Regions from separate parts of the Homo sapiens genome. Here all the other regions are linked to region 1. Evidence: promoter capture Hi-C in 16 types of primary human blood cells and fetal thymus (Javierre and others, 2016). All regions are on one chromosome and are shown on one strand. Each heading gives the region's core, a stretch centred on a gene start or on the middle of the fragment in contact. The rest is flanking DNA. Distances are from core to core; before and after follow the strand shown. Region 1 holds the start of UST-AS1 (UST antisense RNA 1). Region 2 overlaps SASH1 (SAM and SH3 domain containing 1). Region 3 has its middle 39 kb from the start of SUMO4. Region 4 has its middle 130 kb from the start of UST. Region 5 has its middle 160 kb from the start of UST. Region 6 has its middle 18 kb from the start of SUMO4. Region 7 has its middle 180 kb from the start of UST.

Region 1 (3,708 bases), core at 252-2,751:
TTTTGAAAGGTGAATGGAGTCTGCCAGCTGGGGAGAGGCAGGAGCGGGGTCCTGTCAGTTTGTTTTCTCTTAGTTCTTTCTGACCCCTGACAGAATGTCCAGGCACATTCCTCAGAAGGTCACGAGGCCATAGGGCTAGAGAACCCTGCAGGCCCCTCAGGAGGTCACCAGAGCATGCCCTCTGCCCAGAGACTGGGGCACTCTCCCCGAACTCCTCAAGGCTACTGCTTTCAAGCAGTTCAAAGAGAAAAAGAAGGAATCATTAAGAGAAATCCAGCCAATCTCATCACTCTGCTTCGGGAAGACCTTGTTCTTGGGCCAAGATTTAGTGGATTCATCTAATCCTTTCATGGAAGGAATTAAAATGGAACACCTGGCTATTTGCTTTATTTTTATCTGAAGCCACTTGCCATCACTTGAGGATAATTATGTTGAATTTTGTTTCATTCTTGATATCCCACACAAAATTTCCTCAACTCCAGAAATCACTTTTCCATAATTAAGAGCATAGATTCTAGAGCCAGATTGCCTGGACCCATATCCTAGTTCAGCTACAAGTTATGAACCTTATTCCTGCCTCAGTTTCCCCAAGTGTAAATGAGGATAATTATTTTTTCTACTCCATTGACGTGTTATGGGGCTTCAGCAAGCTGGTTACATGAGGTATTTAGAACAAGGTGAATAGCGAGTGCTCAGTGAAGACTGGCTGTTATTCACTCCCTTACTGCAGAGCACCTGACCCGGAACTGTTTGAATTACAATATAGAGGAAGTGCCGTCTCACCCAGCAAGGCAGTCAGAACCTACCAATCAACTGAAACATTCACCGAGGGCCAATTGTGTCCCTGTGGGTTCTGTTCTAGCCATTGGAAATACTAAATCCAATACAGAGTGGCCCCCATCCTCAAGAAACCTACAGCCTGGTGAGAAAACTAGACACCATCTCTTCCTTAACATGCACAATGGTGTGGTTTGTACCGTGCTATACTATGAAATGTCCTCACAGCCCCTCAACAGGTACCTGGAACAGGTATCATCCTCCCCACTTCCTGCATGATAATAAAATGCTTATCAGGAAACACCGTTTGCTTATTACGTGTCATTGGCACCTTAGCATAGGAGGTCATCTTTCAATAAGTTAACCTAGAGGGAAGGGGAGATGTTGTCTAAGTAGGCCCTGTTTTCGTCCTGCAGTGATGGGTTGTAACGAACTCAATGTTTGTGTTAGGTTTGGAGGAGACCAGCCTGTCTACATCAACATCATTAGAGACCCCGTCAACCGGTTCTTATCCAACTATTTTTTCCGTCGCTTTGGAGACTGGAGAGGGGAACAAAATCACATGATCCGCACCCCCAGCATGAGGCAGGAGGAGCGCTACCTGGTAAGTCCTGTCGCATGCAAAAGGCGGTCTCCCCACTGCCTGAGGAGTGGGCCCTCCACCAGGGAAGGTTCACTCTTCCCTTCCCAGGCCTTCTCCTTGGCGCCTCCATGGAGCGTGGCGCAGAGAGGGTGCTTCCGCAGGAAGGAGGTCTTGGCGAGAGAAACTGGTTCCGGGTGACCCAGATCCTAATGAACATTTCCTCAAATTATTTTCTGATTTTGCTTTGCTCAGTTGTCTTTAGTGCTAGGTTTTGGGACCCAGAGCGTTAACAGTCTTTCCTAAGGAGTCCTGACTAGCACTGTAGTGCTTAAGAAGAACAAAGGTGTTGGGGGGGTGTCTGTTAGAGGGCGGCAGAGCCCCTTCTCATCCCTCAGCCCATTCAGTTCCCATGACCACTCTGGGAGGGGGAGGTGTTTTCAGATGAGGACCCTGAGATTCTAAAGGTTGTGGGATTTGCCACAGTCACCTCTCAGGTAAGGGCGCAACTGCGACCGACTGTTTCGGGTTTCCTGCCTTCACAGTCTGGGTTCTTTCCACCACAGCGCGATAGAACCCTGTCATTGCACCAGTAATTGTTTGCTTTCTCTGGACTTGTTTTGGGACCCTCAGCTCCATAAGGGATGTTAGTCTCGAGCCCAGTAATTATTTCCGCAGCACAGAGGTTGGTAACAAAAACGGAGGGCGGAGTTGCGCGTCTTTCTTTCAGCACTAGAACGAAAGGTACATTTCCCATCCCTGTGTTGAGAAACATGTACTGAGGAGCTGACAGCCTGGTGCCCAGGAGGCTGAAATCCTGGTCTCTGTGTCTGAGAGAGCCCTTGGGGTTCACCCGGACCCATCCTGGGCTGTTGTCGGGCACAAGCAGGAAAGTAGGAAGTGTTGAGGATCAGTCAGAGGTGTTGTTCCCAAAGCTGGAAGATCGCCCAGAGCTGAGGCCACTGCTGATGTGCCGTCAGCAGCAGCCTTGCCGCTGGAGAAAAGCACCGAATCTCAGGGCCACGGCCAGGACGGCTGCTTCCTCATCTCATTTTAAAAACATAATGGAAGTGGATGTTCAGAGGCTGGGAGCATTTGGGGATGATGTCCCCTCAGTGTCACGTTCATGTTTTCAAATCCATGATTAGAGTAGAGAAAACTGAGATACAGAGAAGTTAGTGTCTCAGCCAGGGCCAGACGACTACACCAGACCCACGGCTTTCCACTCACCTTCGGTATTTGATCAACTACCTAAGGCTTCAGTGAAATATTTTGATGATTTTATTTTTATTTTTATTTTCTTCCTTTGATGATATATTTTAAAAGTGGCTTTTCCCTTTTTTTTTTTTTTTTTTTTTAGTTTTTATGGCGAAACCCTAATCTATTTCTTTATAGGTTATGAGGCCGGGCGCAGTGGCTCACGCCTGTAATCCCAGCACTTTGGGAGGCCGAGGCAGGTGCATCACTTGAGGCCAGGAGATCGAGACCAGCCTGGCCAACATGGTGAAAACCTGTCTTTATTAAAAATACAAAAATTAGCCGAGCATGGTGGCGCATGCCTGTGATCCCAGCGAATTGGGAGGCTGAGGCAGGAGAATCCTTTGAATCCGGGAGGCAGAGGTTGCAGTGAGCCAAGATCGTGCTACTGCACTCCAGCCTAGGTGCCAGACCGAGACTCCATCTCAAAAAATAATAATAATAATAATTAAATAAAATAAAAAACTATAGGTTATGAATATGACTATATGTTTTTTATTTGGTGAGACGTGTATTCAGAGTATAGAAACACTACAAGAATAATGTCTTCTCTAATTATCTTTATTATTTGTTTTGGATCTTGATTAATATATCTATATGCTCTTTAAAAACAGCATACATTCCATTTAATCCAGACAATTTTTTCATAGTTCTGATTCAATCCTCATGCTAAGAAAGTTAGAACCAAAGGACAGCAGAAAATGCCAAAAAACCAACAATACAGAAACACGTCTTATGAACACTACTCTTCAAATATTAATGTAAGAGTTAAGAGGAATGCTCTAGCTTCTTCCGTTCTGTCAAGCTTCTGTTGCCATCCTGTAAATCATTTCATATAATGCAGTTTTCACACACTCACACAAATAATAAGCTGCAATCATTAGAGAGAAAGGTGGCAAATGTGAGGGGAAAAAATTATGGTTTGGAGTTTCCATTTGTTCGTTTTTGTTTTTGTTTTGAGACACAGTCTTGCTCTGTTGCCCAGGCTGGAGCGCAGTGGCAAGATCTCTGCTCACTGCAACCTCCACCTCCGGGGTTCAAGCGATTCTCCTGCTTCAGCCTCCCCAGCAGCTAGGACTACAGGTGCTTCCCAC
Region 2 (3,868 bases), core at 1,135-3,634, 430 kb before region 1:
ATCATAAATTCCCAGTGCAGACATGGGAACAAAAGAAAACCTCCTGTGCCGCCGCCACCTTTCCGGGCATGTTTCTAGGTGATAGTTGAAGAGGATTCTGCACCAAGTGTCTGCAAGAATGGAATTACAGTTTTCCCAAAAAAATGGGTAGACTCCACTTTCAGTACTTTTGAGAGGTGCAGCCTCCAGCAGGCCATTGGGACAGCTGAGCACAAAAGTGACTGACCAGCTGGGAGGTTTTCGCTCAGCCAAAGCTTGATTACTTCTCAGAGCACACGAGGAGTTGTGTTCTTATTGAATAGACTGGTTAGTGAATAAATGAAATTCATCAGCTTTCGTTAAAGGAGGAGACGTCTCTCCGCAGTGAATATGTAGAGCAGAGAATTCCGTATCGATTGGCTTGCAAATTCCCAACCTAAATGACAGCTTATTTTTACAGCCTGTGAGCAGAATCATCACTGAGCTCACAGCTTTTATGAAGTCTGTCTATTTGAATACACCATACCCTTTGCTCCATTAACTCAGTCTTATCTTGCTCTGTATTATTCAATCTGCCATCAGAAATATTCCTGAAATCATTCATCTTAAAGGAGTATCCTTTCCAGTTACTGAATTCAAACACGTTTTCCTTCAAGGACTCTGCTTCAGGGATATCAGTAGCTAATAGCATTTCTGTTGCTAAAAGACACACCAAAACCATGGTTAATGGTGGAAAAAAGAATTATACATTACTGAAATGTATCAGGCCTGAGAAACGTGGAAGCAAGTGTCATTAGGTGAAATTCCCTTCTGCTAAATAGGCAGTCCCTCTAAATGAACTGGTAAGCTAGAGAAACACACACCATCAGATAGATGTCTGAGCCTAAGATAAACAGGCTGCCTTTAGGGATAGATTTGGGATAGATTTGGAGGCAATTGTGATTCATAGTTAATATCACTTTATAACAAGGTCTTTTAAGTAAGTATTTGATTGCCCAAGAGACACTTTGGGGTCTGTGGCCAGGTTGCGTGTAAAGAGCCTGCACGGTAACTGGTGTAGCCTACCAGCTCAATTAGTATGAATCAGTATTAAAGCATCTATTGTCCCGAACCACATCTGCCCAGAAACAGCTCACTTGCTCTTCCTCAGTCACCAAGAACAGCTGGGGTTTTTGTTTTGTTTTGTTTTATTTTGTTTTGTTTTTGAGACAGAATTTCACTCTCGTTGCCCAAGCTGGAGTGCAGTGGTGCGATCTTGGTTCACCGCAACCTCCGCCTCCCGGGTTCAAGCAATTCTCCTGCCTCAGCCTCCCGAGTAGCTGGGATTACAGGCATGCACCACTACGCATGGCTAATTTGTGTATTTTTAGTAGAGACGGGGTTTCACCATGATGGCCAAGCTGGCCTCAAACTCCTGACCTCAGGTGATCCGCCCACCTCGGCCTCCCAAAGTGCTGGGATTACAGGTGTGAGCCACTGCATCCAACCAACAGCTGGTTTATATATACTCTCCATGACATTTCCTTTATCATCCACAGCTTTGGAGGAGAAAAGCTAACTCCTGAGTGTAAGGCAGGAATCTGTGCTTAGACTGCTCCATGCCACTTTGGCTGAGACCCATCATTCCTCCTGGGATCACATCCTGAGATTTTTGTACCAAGGAGCATTTTGTAGGAGGGTATCGCTATCCATCAGGTTGCTAACCTGGAAGGTGAAGAAGACCTCTTTGCCTCTTCAGACATTCCATTGTGGATCTATTCTGCTCTGGTGTTTAGAACGTCCCTGATAGATAAAGTTGTACTTCCTTTTATTGGTTCTAAAACAAAGGCTTCAAGGTTCCAGAGTACCCATTAGTGCCAAGAGTCAGGGTCCAGACTTTTCCTAGCATTATAGGATTTTTACATCCAATACAGTTAAAGTCATCGTGGCTAAGAAGTAGTGCCTCTAACTGATAACATGATAGGTTTCTGTCAAACAAGATTTCCATACACTAGGGAGATGCAGAGGTCTATTGAGATCTTTGAAGATATGTAGGGATCTTGAAAGGTTTCTAGCTTAGCCATAACTGAGAGCAAAAAGTACATTTCCAGCACTACTTGGAAGTCAGACCCGTCCAGCCTCCCTCGAAGCGTGGGAAAATGCCAGCCATCATATAGGGTTCCATTGGGAAAAGACTCTAATTGTCAGATGGCTATTCCTTACGCCAAGCCCAGACCCACTATCTTAGGTCTGGCAAATGAAAGCCTCTTACAAATTGCTAAAAGAATTTTTACTTGTGGTAAAATACAGATAATCTAAAGTTTACTGTCTTAGCCATTTCTAAGTATAAACAATAACTTGTATAAGAATTCTAATTAGGAATTATTTCAAACATGCAGAAAAGTACAGAGGAAAAGAAAACAAACAAACATATGCATGCACATGCTGAAGTTAATGTTTTGCCATATTTTCTTATTTCTTTTACATTTTAAGAAATATGGTGTAAGCCCACAGAAAGTCCTGCTTTCAAAGAATCCCATTCCCTTCTCTTCTTTCCCAAGGTAACTGCTCCCCAGGCAATGCTATGTGCCTTTGGGTACCACTACCTTTTGATGTTGGAATATTCATAGGTGTCTTAGCATATTCTGTGTGTGTGTGTGTGTGTGTGTGTGTGTGTGTGTGTGTGTGTGTGTGTGTGTGTGGTTGGTGAGGCTGGAGGCAGAGAGAGCTTAGCCCAAGCAGAGTCCCTTCAGGTCAAAGTTCAGGTCATGCTCAAATGGGGTTACAGCCTCACAACCTAGCACTTTGCTGTGATTTGACTGTGAGAATTTTCAGCGTTCTAGCTTATCTTCCTTCTTACCTTTTGTACCTTGGCACCCACGCTGACAAGTGTGGGAAAAGGTCATGGTCTTGATTCTGCACTACAGAGGAGAGGCACCTCACCTCTTTTTCTCTTCTCCCTAATGAAGACAGCGATTCTAGCCCCCTTCCTTACGCCAACTGTGGTTTTCAGGTGACACAATGGATCCCCTCCTTCTCCAAAATAATTTCAGGTATTCTGCTGTGTCTGCTGAGGCTGGGGTCCCCAAAGATGCAGGCACAGCACATACTTCCATGCTGCAGTAGGAGCAGGTCTTCTGTGTTACTCCCACCCAGCACTCTGGAGTCTGTTTTGGCCACTGTGGTGCACTGAACCATGTCACCAGGGACAGAGTACACCGACTCCTCTCCCTGGGTTGTAATGGATAGCACAAAGCCCTCATTTTATAAGTATCATTTTTCTAAATAACATGCTAGGCCAGAACAAAGGCCACTGCAAAGCCACAGGCTCTTCCACACAGTGAGGACACCGCTCTAGAATGTTCCACTTTTAGGTGGTCAGGGGGACAGTATTTGCTCTTGTGCTTCCAATTAGTTAATTTTTCATTAGTCACTTTAAAAGTAGCACTCTTAATTTGGGATTCTAATTGAGGGACTTACGCTGCCACGATCTCTGCTGTAGTTGGGGCTGTAAAATGCTTTCCCCGTGAGAAATGCAAGCAGGAAGTGGTGGACAGCCGGAGAGCTGCCAGAGCCTTCTGCCTCCCCGCATTTTTATTTTGATGACCTGAGAAAAGGCATCACATTTCTGGCTTATTGATTTCTTTTTTTCTTTGTGTATGTGGTTGGAGTGGGGAAGTTGGTGGGGGATGAAAAGAAAGGAAAATAAAGCCATTCATCATTGCAACTAGCTATTTTGTGTAGAAAATGTTTTCTTGGTTTCTGTTTTATGTGACCAAGCACTTACTTACTCTGCATAATAATGCAAAGATGTTCTGCGTGTAACCTCAGTGTCCCATGTAAGGCTCCATGTGCCCTTTCTACAACATGCCGGGTGATGCTGCTAGGGTGTTGAAGGCCCTCGTGGCTT
Region 3 (3,871 bases), core at 83-2,582, 470 kb after region 1:
GAGTGGAATTGCTGGATTGAATGGTAGATCTTCTTTTAGTTATTTGAGAAATCTCTATACTGCTTTCCTTAGAGGTTGTGTTAATTTACATTCCCACCAGCAGGATGTGGGCATTCTTTTTCTACCACATTAGTGCCAACATCTATCGTTTTTTGACTTTTTGGTAATGGCTATTCTGGCTGGGGTAAAGTGGTATTACATTGTGGTTTTAATTTGCATTTCCCTGATGATTAGTGACATTGAACATTTTTTCATACATTTGTTGGTCATTTGCAGATCTTTTTTGAGAAATGTCTGTTCATGCCATTTGCCTACTTTTGTAATGTGATTATTTGGGTTGTTTTCTTGCGGATTTATTTTAGTTCCTTGTAGATTCTGGATATTAGTGCTTTATCAGAGGCATAGTTTGCAAATATTTTCTCCCATTCTGTAGGTTGTCTGTTTACTCTGTTGATAATTTCTTTTGTTGTGCAGCTTTTTAGTTTAATTAGGTCCCATTTATTTTTGTTGTTGTTGTTGCTGCATTTGCTTTTGGGGTCTTAGTCATAAATTCTTTGCCTAGGCCTGTCCAGAAGACTTTTTCCTAGGTTTTCTTCTAGAATTTTTATGGTTGCAGGTCTTAGATTTAAGTATTGTATCTATCTTGAGTTGATTTCTGTATACAGTGAGAGATGGGGATCCAGTTTCATTCTTCTAAAGGCAGCAATCCAATTTTCCCAGCAGCATTTACTGAATAGAATATCCTTTCCCCAGTTTGTGTTTTTGTGTGCTTTTTGAAGATTAGTTGGATGTAAGTATTTGGCTTTATTTCTGGGTTCTCTATTCTGTTGCATTGGTCTATGTGTCTATTTCTGTATCAGTACCATGCTGTTTTAGCAACTATAGTCTTGTAATATATAATTTGAACTTGGGTAGTGATTTGTTCTTTTTGCTTAGGATTGCTCTTTTGTTCCAGATTTGTTCTTTTTGCTTAGGATTGCTTTGGCTATATGGGCTCTTTTTGGTTCCGTGTGAATTTTAGGTTGAGGGCTTTTCTAATTCTGTGGAAAATGACCTTGGTATTTTGATAGGAATTGCACTGAATCTAGAGATTGCTTTGGGCAGTATGATCATTTTCACAATATTGATTCTTCTAACCCATGAGCATGGGACGTTTTTCCATTTGGTTATGTCATCTATGATTTCTTTCATCTACTTTCTTTCATAGGTCTCTTTGTAGAGAACTTTCATCTCCTTGGTTAAGTATATTCCTAGGTTTTGTTTTGTTTTGTTTTTGTTTTTGTTTTTGTTTTTGTTTTGTTTTTTTGAGACATAGTTTTGCTCTTCTTGCCCCAGGCTGGAGTGCAATGGCACAACCTTGGCTCACTGCAACCTCTGCCTCCCTGGTTCAAGGGATTCTCCTGCCTCAGCCTCTGCAGTAGCTGGGATTACAGGTATGTGCCACCATGCCCAGCTAATTTTGTGTTTTTAGTAGAATGTGGTTTCTCCATGTTGTTCATGCTGGTCTCGAACTCCTGACCTCAGGTGATCCACCTGCCTCAGCCTCCCAAAGTGCTGGGATTACAAGCATGAGCCACCGTGCCCGGCCTTTTTGGTAGCTATTATAAAACGAGTGGAGTTCTTGATTTGACTCTCAACTTGTTCATTGCTGGTGTATAGCAGTGCCACTCATTTGTGTGCATTGGTTTTATAACCTGAGACTCTACTGAATTCGTTTATCAAATCTAGGTGTCTTTTGGATGAGTCTTTGGGGTTTTCTAGGTATAAGGTCATATCATGGCAAACAGAGATAGTTTGACTTCCTCTTTTACAATCTGGAGGCCCTTTATTTCTTTCTCTTGCCAGATTTCTCTGGCTAGGACTTTCAGTACTGTGTTGAATAGAAGTAGTGAACGTGGGCATCCAGGTCTTGTTCCAGTTCTTTGGGGGAATGTTTTCAACTTTTCCCCATTCAGAATGATGTTGGCTGTGGGTTTGTTGTATGTGGCATTTATTATTTTGAGCTATGTTCCTTCTGTGCCCAGTTTGTTGAGGGTTTTTATCATAAAGTGATGCTGAATTTTATGGAATACTTTTTCTGCATCTGTTGAGATAATCATCATATGGTTTTGTTTTTCATTCTGTTTATGTGGTGAATCACACTTATTGACTTGCATATGTTGAACTATCCCAGGGCCCTGGGATGGAACCCACTTGATCATGGTAAATTATCTTTTTGATGTGCTGTTGGATTCACTTTTCTAGAACTTTGTTGAGGATTCTTGTATCTGTGTTCATCAAAGATAGTGTCTGTAGTTTTGTTTGTTTGTTTGTTATGTTCTTTCCTGGCTTTGTTATCAGGGTGATATTGGCTTCATCGAATGAGTTAGGGAGGGTTTCCTCCTTGATCTTTTGGAATTGTTTCTGTAGGATTGGTAGCAATTCTTCTTGGAATGTCTAGTAGGATTCGGCTGTGATTTCACTGGGTCCTGGGCTTTTTAATGTTGGGAGATTTTTTATTACTCATTCAATGTCACTGCTTTTTACTGGTCTGTTCAAGATTTCTATCTCTTCCTGATTCAAGCTGGGTGGGGGTGGGATTTGGGGTTAATTATATCTTGTTTTGCTGAGGTCAGTGGGAAGAGGCAGCTCAGAAGCTGAAAAGCAGCCTGGAATCCCAGTCCACCAACCCCTTGCTTTTCCCCCATCTAGCCCAGCCTCAGTTCATTCTGCCAGCAAAAGAAAGAGACCAAAGCACTACTGGCAGACCTTCACAGGTTTGTGTGTAGGTCTGAGGCCTGCGCCAGCTAAGCACATATTTTGAACATCCCCCTTTTCAACAATGAAAAATTATTTCTCATGTCGTTTCTGCTCATTAACAAGATTCTAGCATCTATTTCTGTAACAATTATTAGGCTCCTAAGGTCCCTCCTCTGGAGAGAGAAACCCCTATTAGGGGCCTTCAAATGCTAACCAACCAATCTTTCATGCAGATTAGAGATTTTTTTTTTTTTTTTTTTGAGACGGAGTTTTGCTCCTGTTGCCCAGGGGGAAGTGCAACGGCACAATCTTGGCTCACTGCAACCTCCGCCTCCCAGATTCAACAGATTCTCCTGCCTCAGCCTCCCAAGTAGCTGGGATTACAGGCATGTGCCACCACACCCGGCTAATTTTGCATTTTTAGTAGAGACAGGGTTTCTCCATGTTGGTCAGGCTGGTCTCGAACTCCTGACCTCAGGTGATCTGTCCGCCTCTACCTCCCAAAGTGTTGAGATTACCGACGTGAGCCACCACACCCAGCCCCTAGAGTTATTTATAAATGCATTCATACTACTCTTTACACCGAATTCTTTTTAGCCTAAGTAACCATAAAGATAATACAAAACCGACCTTTGGCAAGTTGCTTCCAGCACCTCAGTTTTCTCTTCTATGAGATGGAATTAATGGCGCACATCCCAAAGGCTGTTGTGAGCATCCCGGGGTGATTCAGAAACAGGGTAGAAGGAATGTGCACAATGAACCCGAGCTTTGTTTTGAACCAGAAGGTGAGCTCTGTGACAGCAGGACTTTCCCCAGGTCCTAGAACAGAGGGCACATAGCAGGGGCCTCACATATCGTGCTGGATAAATGAATGAATGAACCAGGATATTTTTGTAGAAATCCCTAAACTGACACAAAGGCCCCAGGGCCACCAGCTCCCCCTGTGCCTTCAGCAAGTGACTCAGCCTCCGGGACAGGCGTCCACTCAGGACCTCTGAGTTTCCTCCAGACTCTATCCCGCCGTGAACAGACAAAGCCACACACAAAAGTACACAGCCCTCACCTACAGGCCCAAAGAACAAGGCCCAGGATTGCTCAGTGTCGCTAACCTACCCCACGAGCCCTCCTTCCT
Region 4 (3,645 bases), core at 1,093-3,592, 350 kb before region 1:
CATGGTAGGAGAAGTAAAAAGCAATGAGACAGGACTGAGGAAAGTCTCACATGAATGGGCAGCCTCCCCCTGGGAGGAATAACTGGCCAGAAGGGATATGAGGGGCTCTGGGGTGGCAGCCATGAGGTAGAGGATGGGGAAACACCTTCAGGCACACCAGATAACTCTCTAGGATCATCCCACCTGCCCACCATTGAGTTGAGACCTCTTATTTAAGAAACATCGTTTCAGTATTATTTGAATATAATATTTTGGTTAACTCAGCAGGGTGCAGTAGCTCACGCCTGTAATCCCAGCACTTTGGGAGGCCAAGGCGGGCGGATCACTTGAGGTCAGGAGTTCAAGACCTTCCTGACCAATATGATGAAACCCCGTCTCTACTAAAAATACAAAAATCAGCCGGGCGTGGTGGCATGCTCCTGTAATCCCAGCTACTCGGGAGGCTGAGACAGGAGAATCACTTGAACCTGGGAGGTGGAGGTTGCAGTGAGCCGAGATCATGCCACTGCACTCCAGCCTGGGCAACAAAAGCGAAACTCTGTCTCAAAATAATAATAATAATAATAATAATAATAATATTTTGGTTTACTCTAATGGGCACACAGTTGTTAAAGTATCAGATATTGTAAAATTAATCATGATATATAATAAATACCACTACCTTCCCATCCCTTTTAAACTGTCACTTTTCTATCTTATAATAAAATTGCCTTTCCTATCAAGACTCTGAGAGGAAAAATGTCACTGGATAAGGTCACAAATATAATTCATCTCTCTATGAAATTTTCAGAAGTGGAAATTAAGGCAAACTTCATTCGTTAGCAAAATAAATCAAGGAATTACTTATCCACAAAAACAAACTTTTGGATGCCCAGTTACATTAACAGACAAAAAAGAAAAGAAGAAGAAAGATAATATTTCCAGGTTGTGCCCTCTAAGAGCATTCTTTTGACTGTTGTGATGCACTGATCTGTCATAACAAATTCAGATTGGCCCACCTTAGCCCCTCGGCCTGGCATGGAAGACAGCAGATTGGTTGCAGCTGGTCCACAATGGTGTCACTGGCTCACCCAGCCAGAGCTTATGAAAAACCTCAGTCTGGATCGCCAAGATGTTTTCCTCAAAATGATCCCATAGAGCTGCCACTCTGACAATACCAAGAAGGTCTTGAAAAGGACGGGGTTTGGAATACTATAGAATTATATAAGTGCTTCCTTTGCAACTCATCCTTCACCTTGGCAGGCATGCATCCTCAAGTTCAGTTCAGGACTTGCAATGACCAAGAGACCAGTTGATTTGGCTCCATTGACCTGGAGTGGATTCCTGGCTGAAAACCCAGGGCACTGACTTGAATGGTCAGATTTCCAAAATATAAAAGGAAACAGCAAGAGGAAAGGAGAAGGAGAATGGGGTGTGTGTGCACGTGTGTGTATGCATGTGTTAGTGCAGTTTTAGAGGCCTGTGTGGGTGAGAAAGGAGAGTGACACAAAACAGATCAGAAACCACGCCTGGCCTCCCATGTTGAATTTCTCCCCTTATTCCCTGTACTGGATGTTTGTCATTTGCCTCTCCAGCCTCAGTTTCTCTCTATTGCCTTAGGAAGCTTAATGTCAACAAGGATTCCCCATACCCTCTGGCTTCCAGTGGAATCAGCCAATGAATCAGTGGGCCCACTGGCAGGAGTTCTGAAAGCTGGAAGAGAGGGTGGTTGTTGGCAGGGGTTGGCTGCGTCCTTCTGTGAAAGCCACAGCTTTTACCAGGTGACTTCTCCGTGCTACCCTCTCGATGTTCTGGTGACTCGGCTCTCATTTTGCCCCTCAGACCAAGGGGTAGTGATGATGGATCTGTGCTGTTGCCAGTTTGGGAATCCTGCACTATTCTTTGTTGGTTCCCCTAAACCCTGCCTGCACCTCTAAATAATCTCTTTATTAAACTCTTCCCAAATCAAATTGTTTAAATATGGCATTGGTTTCCCATCATGAGTTGGACAGATATGTTCTACAAATATATGAGTTTTTGCAAAGGAGGTGACAGAGATTGAACTTGAGAAAGGCAAGTTAAAATTATAGTAGTATCAGTCCCAGTTCTAGGGCTATTGATAGTATTAAATCAAGTTTAGCCTAAAGCTGCCTCCTGACAATGTTTTAAGTTCAGCCTAAAGGTTTCTCTGTGCATCATGAACTATAACAAATGGAGGTGTACACAGACCGTAGCCCACACTTGTGCCAATCATGGAGTTTTGGCCAATCAAATGTAGCTGACTGTTCTAACCATGTTCAAATAAGGCAAACGGTGTACTGTAATCAATCTGGCTGTTTCTGTACCTCACTTCCCTTTTCCGTACATCATTTTCCTTTTTCTGTCCATAAATTGTCTTCCACCACATGGTTGCACTGGAGTCTCTGAGCATACTCTGGGTCAGGAGGCTGCCCAATTCACAAATCTTTCATTGCTCAATTGAACTCTTTTAAATTTAATTCAGCTGAAGTTTTTATTTTATCAGTGGCAATGAAAGAGACCCATTCTTTCATGTCTACACATGAACAAATAGAAAAAGCAGTGAATTAAAAGTCAGAAAACTTTGGATCTAGTCTGGAATTTATCCCACACTGGCTACATGGCCTTGGTCAATTAATTTACCTTTTGTAGGACTTAGTTTTCTCTTTTATATAATATAAATAATCTGCTCAACATACTTCATGGCACTGTTGGGAGATTCAAATATCAAAATGCTTTGAAAAAAGGCTGTTCCATGCTTATCTATTGTAAAAACTCAGTATGTTTTTCCAAGCATAGCAGTAAATCAGCTCCTTTGAAGATTTTACCAAGTCTCCCAGGAAGAATTAATTCTCCTTCTTTCATTTTCTCAAAATTCAAACTATTTTATACAGAGACTTTGATCAGTCAAGAGCGCTTAGAAGCAGGAAAGTCATGGGAACCTCAGACTTAGAGTGAGCATTTTGAATATCATGGAGCCTGATGAGGAAATGAACCTGTGGAGAGAAGGGGGTGGAGGAAGCATAGAGTGAGAAGTCAAGAGAAGAGGCCACACTGGCACAGACAAATGGAAATTTTATTCCTGGAAGCTTTGCAGATCCTAGAAGTCAGGGTTTGTATCTTGTTTACCAACCTTAGATTCCAAGACGCATCTCAGTGTCATAAATCTCCTCTGCAGTTGAGCTAGCTTCAGTGGGTTTCTATTTCTTGACAATCCAGTGAGCTTTGATTGGAGAGCCATCCTTAGCCACCTTCCGTGGTCCTGGCAGGGCTGCTGAGACTGAGTGAGTGAAGCCTGGCCAGTTGGATGCCACTCGGCCACTGTGGGCCTGCCATGGCCACTTTCCATGTGTCAGATATGGCTTCAGGCTTGCCATATTTCTTGTATTCACAGACTTTCCTCTTGCTCATAAGGTTTCCACAGCTTGGATGGAATCTTCTTTCATCTCCTGTAGAGCTGTCCCTTTTCCTTTGTCATCAAGTATCATGATCATTTTGTGGTTGGCCACTTTATTCCCACGGCTCCTTGTCCCTTTTCTCTACAGGTTCTTGCTTGCTGTACAATTTCCAATGCCTCACGAGTGTCCAGGGAACAGAGCAGAAGAAGAAGAACATGTAAAGAATGAAGATTTAAGCAAGCAATTAATG
Region 5 (3,792 bases), core at 306-2,805, 380 kb before region 1:
AGCTCTGGCTGCGAGGTCCTGCCCAGTGAGGAGGAATGGATCTGGGTCCTGCCTAAAGAAGCAGTCTGGCCACAATCTGGCAAAGTGGCTGTGCTGCACTGGGAGACTTTTCTTATCTGGACCATTTGGACTTTCCAAAGCTGGCAGGCTGGAACCACTGAGTTGACTGAACCACAAAGATGGTGGCTGTCCCTCCCCACAGGAGGCCCTGTCCCAGGGTGAGATCAGAGCTCTGACTGTAGACCACTGAATTCTTCCATATTTCAAACTTTTGAACTATTTTTATAGCTATTATGATAATCTGTGGTCAGTGATCTTTGATGTTTCAATTGCAATTGTTTTGAGGTACCACCAACCATGCTCAGATAAGAGGGCAAACTTCAATAACTGTTGTATGTGTTCCGACTGCTCCACCAATCTGCTGTTCCCCCTTATATCTCTTTTGCTGGGTTTCCCTATTCCCTGATACAATAATATTGAAATTAGGCCAATTCAGAACCCTACAATGTCTTTAACGTGTTCAAGTGAAAGAAAGAGTTACAAGTCTCACCCTTAAATCAAAAGCTAGGAATGATTAAGCTTAGTGAGGAAGGCATGTCAAAATCTGAGATAGGCTGAAAGCTAGGCTTTTTGCATCAGTTAGCCAAGTTGTGAATGCAAAGGAAAAGTTCCTGAAGGAAATTATAAGTGCAACTCCAGTGAACACACAAATGTTAAGAAAGTAAAGCAGTCTTATTGCTGACATGGAGAGTTTGTGTGGTTTGGATAGAAGATCAAACAAGCCCCAAGATTTTCTTAAGCCAAAGCCTAATCCAGAACAGGGCCCTAACTCTTCAATTCTATGAAGGCTGAGAGAGGTAATAAAGCTGAAGAAGAAAAGTTTGAAGCTAGCAGAGATTGGTTCATGAGGTTTAAGGAAAGATGCCATTTCCATTACATAAAAGTGGAAAGTAAAGCAGTAAATGCTGATGTAGAAGCTGCAGCAAGTTATCAAGTTATCCAGGAGAGACAGCTAAGATCATTGATGAAAGTGGTTACACTAAACCACAGATTTTCTTTTTTTTTTTTTTGAGATGGAGTCTCGCTGTCTCACAGGCTGGAGTGCAGTGGCGCGATCTCGGCTCACTGCGAGCTCCACCTCCCGGGTTCACGCCGTTCTCCTGCCTCAGCCTCCTGAGTAGCTGGGACTACAAGCACCCGCCACCACGCACAGCTAATTTTTTGTATTTTTAGTAGAGAAGGGGTTTCACCATGTTAGCCAGGATGGTCTTGATCTCCTGACCTCGTGATCCTCCTGCCTCGGCCTCCCAAAGTGCTGGGATTACAGGCGTGAGCCACCGTGCCCGGCTAAACCACAGATTTTCTATGTAGATTAAACAGCCTTCTGTTGGAAGAAGATGGCATCCAGGAGTTTCATAGGAGGAGAAGCGAATGCCTGGCTTCAAAGCACTGAAGGACAGGCTGACTCTCGTTAGGGTCTAATGCAGCTGGTGACTTGAAGTTGAAACCAATGTTCATTGAGCATTCTGAAAATCCTAGGGCCCTTAAGAATTATGCTAAATCTACTCCACCTGTGCTATATAAAGAAACAACAGGATCTGGATGACAGCATATCTGTTTATAGCATGATTTACTGAATATTTTAAGCCCACTGTTAAGACCTACTACTCAGAAAAACAGATGTCTTTCAAAATATTACCACTCATTGACAATGCAGCTAGTCACACAACAGTTCTGATAGAGATGTGCAAGGAAATAAATGTTGTTTTCATGCCTGTGAATACAACATTCATTCTTCAGCCCATGGATCAAGGAGTAATTTCGACTTTCAACTCTTATCATTTAAGAAACACATTTTATAAGGCTTACAGCTGCCATAAATAGTAATTTCTGTGATGGATTTGGGCAAAGCAAATTGAACCTCATAGAAAGTATTTCTCATTCTAGGTGCAATTAAGAACATTCGTGGTTTATGAGAAGTCAAAATACTGACATTAGCAGGAGTTTGAAAGAAGTTGATTCCAACCCTCATAGGTACCTTTGAGGGTCTCAAGACTTCAGTGGAGGAAGTCACTGCAGATATGGTAGAAACAGCAAGAGAACTAGAATCAGAAGTGGAACCTGAAGATGGGACTGAATTGCTGCAATCTCATGATCAAACTTGAATGAATAAGGAATTGCCTCTTATGGGGAGCAAAGAAAGTTGTTTCTTGAGATGGAATCTACTTCTGGTGAAGATGCTGTGAACATTGTTGAAATGACAATGAAGGATTTAGAATACTATGTCAACTTAGTTTATGAAGAAGTGGCAGGGCTTGAGAGGATTTACTCCAATTTTGGAAGAAATTCTACTATTGGTAAAACGCTATCAAATGGCATCTCACGTTACAAAGAAATCTTTCATAAAAGGAAGAGAGAGTCCATCGATGCCTCAATTTCCATTGTTGTCTTACTTTAAGAAATTGCCTCACAGCCACCCAAACTTCAGCAACAATTACCACCATCAACACTGTGGCAAGACCCTCCACTGGCAAAGCTTACAATGTGTCAAAGGCTCAGATGATTGTTAGCATTTTTTAGCAATCAAGCATTTTTAAATTAAGGTATGTGAATTGTTTTCTTAGACATAATGATTTTGCACACAATAAACTGTGGTATAGTGTAAACATAACTTTTAGATATACTGGGAAAACAAAAAAATTTTTGTGACGTGCATTTTTGTGACATTCACTTTATTGCAGTGGTTTGAACAGGACCCACAATATCTCCAACGTATTCCTGTATACACCTGGACCTTAACCAGTGGGAAAAATGAGCAGCAAAGTTGTCCTGGGTCAACTAGAGCTGGAAAGTGTCGGGGCTGGGACAAACCAGGCACTATCTGTGCCCAGCCCCCTCTCAGCTCCACTAAACAGCTTTTTTTCCTCCTTCAGCTCAAGGGCCACCAAAGTGAGGGGGGCTGGTGATGTCTGTGGTGCCCCTGTCCATTCATGCCCAAAACAGGTGAGAATGGAACCACACAAAAGTGAAAATGAAACTGGTGGGGAGGAGGAAATAAGGTTCAGAGGGAAAGAATAGGGGTGCACACAGGAAAAAGAAGAAAAACAAAGGGGAGACTTTCACAGATTGCCTAGCCATGGCACTGGCACAGGCAGTAAATGATGTGGATTCTGTCTTGGGACATGTGGCTACTCTATTCTGAAAATGTCATTTGCTTAAAAAAAAAAATTATCTATTGCCATTTAGCCCTCCTGGATATGCAACTTAAAAAAATCAAATACAGAAATTGGGTTATTTTCTCCAAATAAATTGAGAATATTTTATATTACTTATTGTGTCTTTATAGTAGAAGATATTGCGAGTTTTTCACCTAACGTTTTCCTTTTTGTCATGGACGCACAACTGGATTGCATTTCCCAGCCTCTCTCACGGGTAGGTGTGGTCACATGACTGAGTTCTAGCCAATGGAATGTGAGAGGAAGCCAGAGCTGACGCATAGAACCTCTCACGTTATTTTCCCTTCCATGGTGACATGGGAAGCATCCATTGAAGAAGGTGGAGCCATGGGTGGGAAAGGAGCCTGATCCCTCAGTTATAGTCAGCCCTCCAAATCTGTGGGCTCCACATCCTTGGATCCAACCAATGCTGACTTGAAAATATTTGAAACAACAACAACAAAAATAACAATATAACAACAAAAAATAATACAAATAGGAAACAATATACAGTAACAACTATTTACACAACATTTACATTATATTAGGTATTTAAATTTTTTTTAGAGTTGGGGTC
Region 6 (3,847 bases), core at 734-3,233, 450 kb after region 1:
GTGTCGAGATGCCCTCCAGGACTTTCATAGATAGAGAAGAGAGATCAGTGCCTGGCTTCAAAGGACAGGCTGACTCTTGTTAGGGGCTAATGCAGCTGGTGACTTGAAGTTGAAGCCAATGCACATTGACCATTCCAAAAATCCTAGGGCTCTTAAGAGTTATGCTAAATATACGCTGTCTGTGCTCTAGAAATGGAACAACAGAGCCTGGATGGCAGCACATCTGTTTATAGCTTGGTTTACTGAATATTTTAAGCTGACTGTTGAGACTTACTGCTCAGAAAAAAAAAAAAAAAAAAAAAAGATTTCTTTCAAAATATTACTGTTCATTGACAATGCACTTGGTCACCCAAGAGCTCTGAGGGAGTTGTATAAGGAGATTTCTGTTTTCATGCCTGCTAATATATCCATTTTGCAGCCTGTGGATGAAGGAATAATTTAGACTTTGAAGTCTTTATCACTTAAGAAATACATTTCATAAGGCTATAGCTGCCATTGATAGTGATTCCTCTAATGGATCTGGGTAGAGTAAACTGAAAACCTGGGAAGAATTCACCATTTTAGATGACATTAAGAACATTCATGATTCATGGGAGGAGGTCAAAATATCAACACTAATAGGAGTTTGAAAGCAGTTGATTTCAACCCTCGTGGATGACTTTGAGGGGTTCAAGACTTCAGTGGAGGAAGTCACCGCAGGTGTGGAAATAGCAAGAGAACTAGAATTAACAGTGGAGCATGAAGATGGGACTGAATTGCACTCTCATGATCAAAGTTGAACAAATAAAGAGTTGCTGTTTATGGACGAGAAAAAGTGGTATCTTGAGATGGAATCTCCTCCTGACGAAGATGCTGTGAACGCTATTGAAATGACAACAAAGGATTTAGGATATTACATAAACTTAGTTGATAAGCAGCCACAGGGTTTGAGAGGATTGACTCCACGTTACTGTGGGTAAAATGCTACCAAACAGCATCACATTCTACAGAGAAATCTTTCATGAAAGAAAGAGTCAGTCGATGCAGCCAGCTTCATTGTTGTCTTATTTTAAGAAATTGCCCCAGTCACCCCATCCTTCAGCAGCCACCACCCTGATCGGTCAGCAGCCATCACCCTGATCAATCAGCGGCCATCAAGACCCTCCACCAGCAAGAAGATTATGACTTGCTGAAGGCTCAGATGATTGTTAACATTTCTTAGCAATAAAGTATTTTTAATTAAGGAATGTACATTTTGTTTTTAGACATAATGCTATTGCACACTTAATAGGCTGCAGAATAGTGTAAACAATTTTATGTGCACTGGGAAACCAAAAAATTCATGTGACTGACTGTATTGTGATACCCACCTTATTATGGTGGTCTGGAACCAAACCTGCAATATCTCCAAGGTATGACTGTCAGGACAGGTGTGTCTTTGTGTCCCCATAGCAAATAACTTCATACATGGCAAAAGGTCAGTAGTTGATGATGATTCTTTTTTTATTTAAGATAGGGTATCACTGTTTTGCCCATCCTGGACTTCTAGGCTCAAGCTATTCTCCCACCTCAGCCTCCCAAGTAGCTGGGACTACAAACGTGCCCCACCGCACCCAGACTTGATGATAACGACTCTTAACATGAAGGCCAAGTTAATTTCTAACATTTATTCAAGTTAACCAGTGGGTACAGCCATTTTGAATGTAGTATGTATTTTCCCCTAGAACTAGTATTAGAAGCAGTAGGTTCCCAGGCCAGCCCACTAATTAGCTGGAACGCTTTGCATTTGGAAAACTGAAATAAGGCACAATCATACTATTGGGATAGATAAATGTAACAATGAAACCCAAAAATAATGTTTCTGGTATCTTCTGTGTGGTGCCAGAGGGGGATGAAGAAGTAGAGATCTTTGTGGATATTCTGGAAAATTCAGAAATTGGCATTTCAACCTGAGGCCTCTGTTACATCTAACTTTACTTCAAATTTTAAAGTTTGCTTTTTCATGGACCAAAGTGTTTGAGTGGCTTCTTCTTAGACATAATGAATGTCCTTTTTTGTTTTTCTTCAAAATTGAAGCAGAGGGACATGGGAGAATATTTTTCTGGAGAACACTGGTCAAGAGAAGAGGAAAGAAAGAAGAAAATTAAATGCAAAGTATGTAAAAATCCTGTCTTATTCTTTCCCAAGAAAGGTGAAGAGACAGGCTTCTGACTAAACGATGAGCAGCAGAGAGCAGGGACTCTCACTGGTTAAACTCCACTGGGTCTGATAGCCAACACATTGCCTGAGAGTGAGTGACATGAAACAAGCCCACATTTTATTAATCTGAATTGAAGTCTTAACTACTACCTTTTGGTTTTTAACACAAGTCTTTCACGTGCCCTTTTGCTGAACTGCCAAATTCTTTTTGTAATAAAACAGCATACACATCTTAGAACACCAATTTGCTAACCCAGACAACCAAGCTCTGCTAAGGTAATGAATGAGAAGCAATATATGCAGTTTCCATTCCAGTGAATGATAATAGGTGATTTTTGTTATGAAGTATCTCAAAGCATGATTATATTCAATATCGAATGACAAAAACACACAGCAAAGATTTTTAAACTTCCACCTGTATTGCTCTCTTTATTAACCATAATCTCTTTCTTTTCTACTGTTTATTATGTTTTGTTTTGTTTTTGTTTTGAGACAGAGTCTAGCTCAGCCACCCAGACTGGAGTGCAGTGGCGCGATCTCGGCCCACTGCAACCACTGTCTTCTGGGTTCAAGCGATTCTCCTGTCTCAGCCTCTTGAGTAGCTAGGATTACAGGCACCTGCCATCATGCCCAGCTAATTTTTGTATTTTAGTAGAGACGGGGTTTCACCATGTTGGCCAGACTGATCTTGAACACGTGACCTTAAGTGATCCGCCCACCTCGGCCTCCCAAAGTGCTGGGATTACAGGCATGAGCCACTGCGCCTGGCCTCTGTTTATTATTAATATGCTAACAGTTAACAGGTAACTACTGGCTTCACATTACAAGAAACAAGGGGCTCCCAAATTTGGAAACGAGTAAAGAATAAGTAGTACTCACTGAAAACCTTAGGCCAACTGTCATTTTGTCCTTTTGATTCCAGTTTGTGCTAAGGTAGCAATAGTAATTTCTCAGTTCTCAATCTGCACAATCATCTTTATATTTCAAAAATTTCACATTTTGAATTTGCTACTTCCTCCTTTTGCTAGTCTTCCTAATCTTAGCCACATTCTCTCATTTTCTTCACTGCTTTATACCCTGCTTCCAGCTTAGGTCTGGCACATAGTAGGTGGGCAACAAATTTTGTTACGTTATGAATTTGATGACAGGGTCTAGCTTAATTTTTCTATGATTTTCCCCAAATGCTTTTCAGTATCACATTCCTGCCATAGGTCAGGCAGTGTGTTTGATGACACGAGAGACAGTCACCACCTTAGAGCTTATAAAGGAGAAATAAGCATGCAAGTACAGTCAATCATTATCTGTGGATTCGTTTGTGAATTTCCCTATTCACTAAAAATGGTCATGGCACTTTCATAGTCCTTTGCAGATATGGGTAGAACAGTGACAAACTTGAGTCACCCAATGGTCATATTCCCATCTCAGGTCAAGCTACACAATGGTCTGCCTCTTGTGTCAGCTCCTGTACTGTGAACCAAGTGTCCTTTCTGCAGTCTATTTAGGGATATGTTTTTTGCATTTGTATTGGTGATTTTGCCATTTAAAATGCCCTCAACATTGTGCGGAAATGCTGTCGAGTGTTCTAAGCCCAAGAATGCCAGGATGGGCCTTAGCGAGAAAATACATGTGTCAGAGAGCTTTGTTCATGCGCGAGCTGTAGCCCTGTTGG
Region 7 (4,006 bases), core at 1,226-3,725, 390 kb before region 1:
TGCCACCCAGGCTGGAGTGCAGTGGCGTAATCACAGCTCACTGCAGCCTCAAACTTCTGGGCTGAAGTGATCCTACCGTCTCAGCCTCCCAAGCAGCTAGGACTACAGGTGTGCACACCATGCCTGGCTAATTTTTTAAAAAATTTTGTAGAGACGAGGTCTTGCGATGTTGTCGAGGACGGTCTTGAACTCCTGGCCTCAAGTGATCCTCCTGCTGTGGCTTCCCAAAGTGCTGAGATAACAGGCGTGAGCCACAGCAACTGGCCACAAATTTGTTTTTTTTTTTAATAATTTACATTACTTTGTTTTGATTTCATTGGTTTCTTTGTAATTCTATGTATTTTAGACTATGCATATTAAAAACATTATTTTGAGAAAAGATACACAGGCTTCACCAGACAGTCAAAGAAGCTCATGGCACCAAAAAAATCTTAAGAACCCCCGTGGAGAACAGGTTTGCCATGTGGCCCCCCAGCCCTTGTTTGGCCACTTCCTTGGTGGAAACAAATCCTTCTCAAAATCATACATTCTGTTTTATATTCTTTAAATACATTGAAGGGAAGAAGGGGTGAGCTGGCTATCAATTTATTGCCCCTCTGCTCTAAATGGACTCTTTGTCGCTTACCCACCCTGAAGCCGAGCACTGTGAGTTTCTCCTTTGTGTGTGCATACAGGGCACTGGCGGGACCAATGCAGGAGGAAGGGGCTTCTCTTCCTAGCACCCAGCACGCTTCCTTTCCTTTCTCATTGCTCCTCCTGCACGGCTACCAGTGACATAGGAGGTGGGCATCCACTGGTACTCCCCGAACCAAGCTTCGGTGGCACCCTACAGTTCTTAGTGAGTTCCATGTTGCCCTTTCCTGCCTATCAGCCACAGCCCACGGGCACCAGCAGGAGGCTTTTGGAAGCTTCCTCTGCCAGCCTGAGAGAGGCAGTGGCTGTTTCCTGCCAGCTCAGCCCTGTGACTTGGACCAATTCTGACCTGGGTCAGTTCAGGAAACTAATCTATCATCCATCGGGTAGCAGCCACACCTTCCCAGTGAGGCCTGACTAGCAGTTTTGGGGAAGGAGGCTTCTGCAGTTGTTTTGTAGGGCTGGTGTAACAAAGTACCACGCACTGGCTGACTTAAACAACAAAAATGCATTGTCTTCCCATTCTGGAGGCTGCATAACTAAGTAGGAGGTATGGGCAGCGTTAGTTCCTTCAGAGGGCTGGGAGAGAGACTCTGCTCCTGCTTCTGGGGCTTTGCTGGCAATCTTTGGCATTCCTTGGCTTGTGGAAACATCCCGATCACTGCCTTCATCTGCACATGGTGTTCTCCCTGTGTGCATGTCTGTGTCCACATTTCCTTCTTCCATAAGGGACACGAGTCACATTGGATCAGGGGCACACCCTGTTCCCACATGACCTTATCCTAACTTAATTAATTATATCCGTGATGGCTTCACTTCCAAATAAGGTCACCTTCTCAGTAGGACTTCAGTGCATGTATTCTGGGGGACACAAATCGGCCCCCCTTTGAAGTGTGTTTCTTCCTTCAGGACTCTCAGCCTTAGGCTATTCTTTAGCGGTGTTTTTGACCCCTTCACCGTTGACACCCTGGTCAGTAGGTGTTGTGTTTTACTCTAATTTGGTCTTGTGGTCTCTCTCAGGAGAGTGGCCACAAACTTTAGCCCTGCCCTTGAAGCGCTCCAGGGAACTTCATCATGGATGTTTACAGTGAGCCTTTCGTGGAGTACCTCTTTATTCTGGCAGACAACCTAATGCTTAAATGTGTGACCCACGGCCAGGGGTCCCTCTCACAGAACACCTGTTGATACTGGTAGGTCCCCTTGTGGCTTCTGTCTGACCTGTGTGCAGTTTATTCCCACCAAGATGGCCGCTCTCTAGGAGAGCCCTGAGCAGGAGAGAAGTCAGGGGAGACACAGAAGAGCAGTTGCACAGAGCCCATGAAGAAACAGAAGCAGTTCATCACATACAGATCGCAGACAGAACAGGGCAGTGGCACGCTGCCCTGCAGGGCACACTGAAGGGCACACTGCAAGGCCAACAGGAAGAAAGGGGCTCCGTCCATGACATGCAAGCTCAACTAGTGGGTGGGGCATGAGAGAGAGAGATTGGGATGTGTGGGATGAAGGCTTTATGAGGGTCCAGGGTGGTACCTACACATGTTCTATATGTTCAGGGCCATAGCGATGGCTGAGGCCCCCTCTCTAAGAGCTGAAAGTGTGATAGTGGACACTGAGAGGGGAGAAACCTGTGTTAGTTAAGTGCTGTGGGACTGCTTTACCAAGAACGTGACTCTTTTTTTTTTTGAGACAGTCTCACTCTGTTGCCCAAGCTGTAGTGCAGTGGCACAATCTCGACTCACTGCAGCCTCTGCCTTGAAGGCTCAAGAAATCCTCCCACATCAGCCTCCCCAGTAACTGGGACTACAGGCTCACAGCACCACACTCAGCTAATTTTTTAATTTTTGGGGGGCCAGATGCGATGTCTCACACCTGTAACCCCAGCACTTTGGGAGGCTGAGGTGGGTAGATTGCTTGAGTCTAGGAGTTTGAGAGCAGCCTGGGCAACATGGTGAGACCTTGTCTCTACTAAAAATTAAAAAAATTAGCTGAATGTGGTGAAATGCGCCTGTGATCCCAGCTACTTCAGAGGCTGAGATAGGAGGATTACTTGAGCCCAGAGGGGTTGAAGCCACAGTGAACCATGATTGCACCACTGCGCTCGAGACTGGGCGACAGAGCAAGACCCTGTCTCAAAAAAAAAAAAGTTCATAAAGACAAGGTCTCATTATATTGCCCAGGGTGGTCTCAAACTCCTGGATTCAAGCTCATGAGCCACCGTGCCTAGTGTGAAGGTAACTCTTAAATCTGACTCTTGAACTCTGAGTCTTGGAGGAGAACAAACCAGAAAGAGAATGAGGGAAGAACATTCTATACAGATGAAAGAAATGGAACAAAGACATGAAATAAACTGGGCATGGTTTATTAGGAAAACCCCATTAGGAATGGTTAAAGGAAGCAACGGTGTTAAACCTAGAAAAAAGATCATGTTTCTCAACACGCCGGATTCCCATGTCCTTAAATTGCTTGTGGGCTGAAACCACGTGCAGTTACAGTAGACCGTTCACGCTCCCAGAATGTCAGAAAGCATGCACAGGCCATGTGTACAGACAGCGACTCCTGCATTAGGACTGCCACTTGGGCAGGAGCAGGGCTGAGACCCCCTCAGTTATAAGATGCAGCCTAACTTCTGAGATTTTCAAGTGTCAAAAAACTATACGTCTTAGGGATAGTAAAGCAGAATATGCATGGAATGAAAAATTGAGTTGTAAGAAGTCCTACTCTTATGGAAACTCAAGGCAGGGTAATAATAAGAACATGTGCTTTGGAGTCAGTATGACCTGGGTTCACTTATAGTTAAATATAGCCCCAGTTACTAAACCGAGAGACTCTCAATTTTCTCATCTGTAAAACACAGCTAATTATTACCTCATGGAACTAAAGGAGATAAAGTGTGTAAATTCACATTTGATATTAAGACCATAGCTGTGAACAGGGAGGAGCAGTAAGGCTATAATGTGGCTCCTTCTAGGCCATCTTAGACAGAGCAATCCCTAGTCCAAGAATTTCCTATGCAAACACTGAAAAGTGGCTGGGTGTGGTGGCTCACAATTGTAATCCCAGCAATTTGGAAGGCTGAGGCAGGAGGATGACTTGAGCTCAGGAGTTCGAGACCAGCCTGGACAACATGGTGTGACCTCATCACAGTAATGCAGTCCTCATCTCTACTAAAAAGAAAAAAAATTAAATAGCTGGGTATGGTGGTGTGTGCCTGTAGTCCCAGCTACTTGAGAAGCTGTGGCAGGAGGGTCGCTTGAGTTTGGGAATTTGAGGCTGCAGTGAGCTATGATTGCACCACTGCATTTTAGCATCAGCAACAGAGCGAGACCCTGTCTAATAAAAAAACCCTGAAAAAATGATAGCTTATAATCTCAGT

What was found. The method cuts DNA at HindIII sites, captures the fragments that hold promoters and counts their contacts. A CHiCAGO score of 5 or more calls a contact.
Region 2: a fragment that was not itself captured here is called in contact with the fragment with the promoter of UST-AS1 in region 1 in 6 of 17 cell types (naive B cells, total B cells, fetal thymus and 3 more); the score reaches 7.9 in naive B cells.
Region 3: a fragment that was not itself captured here is called in contact with the fragment with the promoter of UST-AS1 in region 1 in 1 of 17 cell types (naive B cells); the score reaches 5.2 in naive B cells.
Region 4: a contact is called between a fragment that was not itself captured here and the fragment with the promoter of UST-AS1 in region 1, in 7 of 17 cell types (naive B cells, M1 macrophages, total B cells and 4 more). The highest score is 10.5, in naive B cells.
Region 5: a contact is called between a fragment that was not itself captured here and the fragment with the promoter of UST-AS1 in region 1, in 10 of 17 cell types (total B cells, naive B cells, M1 macrophages and 7 more). The highest score is 15.1, in total B cells.
Region 6: a fragment that was not itself captured here is called in contact with the fragment with the promoter of UST-AS1 in region 1 in 4 of 17 cell types (total B cells, naive CD8 T cells, naive B cells and 1 more); the score reaches 6.4 in total B cells.
Region 7: a fragment that was not itself captured here is called in contact with the fragment with the promoter of UST-AS1 in region 1 in 15 of 17 cell types (naive B cells, total B cells, megakaryocytes and 12 more); the score reaches 28.9 in naive B cells.

Annotation. Positions count from the first base shown.
Region 1 is chr6:148,963,183-148,966,890 of GRCh38, forward strand. It overlaps UST-AS1 (UST antisense RNA 1), which reads right to left and starts at 1,502. Exons shown (of 3, transcript NR_038408.1): 1 at 1,379-1,502. UST (uronyl 2-sulfotransferase) reads left to right here. Exons shown (of 8, transcript NM_005715.3): 5 at 1,228-1,381. RefSeq lists enhancers at 390-966, 967-1,543. The HindIII fragment of the contact is 7,762 bases long and covers 1-3,417 here.
Region 2 is chr6:148,535,173-148,539,040 of GRCh38, forward strand. All of the region lies in intron 16 of SASH1 (SAM and SH3 domain containing 1), which reads left to right. Among named protein-coding and RNA genes, the nearest start is that of SASH1, 190 kb to the left of the region's middle. The HindIII fragment of the contact is 4,264 bases long and covers 253-3,868 here.
Region 3 is chr6:149,437,265-149,441,135 of GRCh38, forward strand. No RefSeq gene overlaps it. Among named protein-coding and RNA genes, the nearest start is that of SUMO4, 39 kb to the left of the region's middle. RefSeq lists an enhancer at 3,376-3,871. The HindIII fragment of the contact is 9,116 bases long and covers 1-3,871 here.
Region 4 is chr6:148,612,494-148,616,138 of GRCh38, forward strand. No RefSeq gene overlaps it. Among named protein-coding and RNA genes, the nearest start is that of UST, 130 kb to the right of the region's middle. The HindIII fragment of the contact is 1,483 bases long and covers 1,602-3,084 here.
Region 5 is chr6:148,587,620-148,591,411 of GRCh38, forward strand. No RefSeq gene overlaps it. Among named protein-coding and RNA genes, the nearest start is that of UST, 160 kb to the right of the region's middle. The HindIII fragment of the contact is 1,957 bases long and covers 578-2,534 here.
Region 6 is chr6:149,416,371-149,420,217 of GRCh38, forward strand. No RefSeq gene overlaps it. Among named protein-coding and RNA genes, the nearest start is that of SUMO4, 18 kb to the left of the region's middle. The HindIII fragment of the contact is 4,936 bases long and covers 1-3,847 here.
Region 7 is chr6:148,569,739-148,573,744 of GRCh38, forward strand. No RefSeq gene overlaps it. Among named protein-coding and RNA genes, the nearest start is that of UST, 180 kb to the right of the region's middle. The HindIII fragment of the contact is 3,138 bases long and covers 907-4,006 here.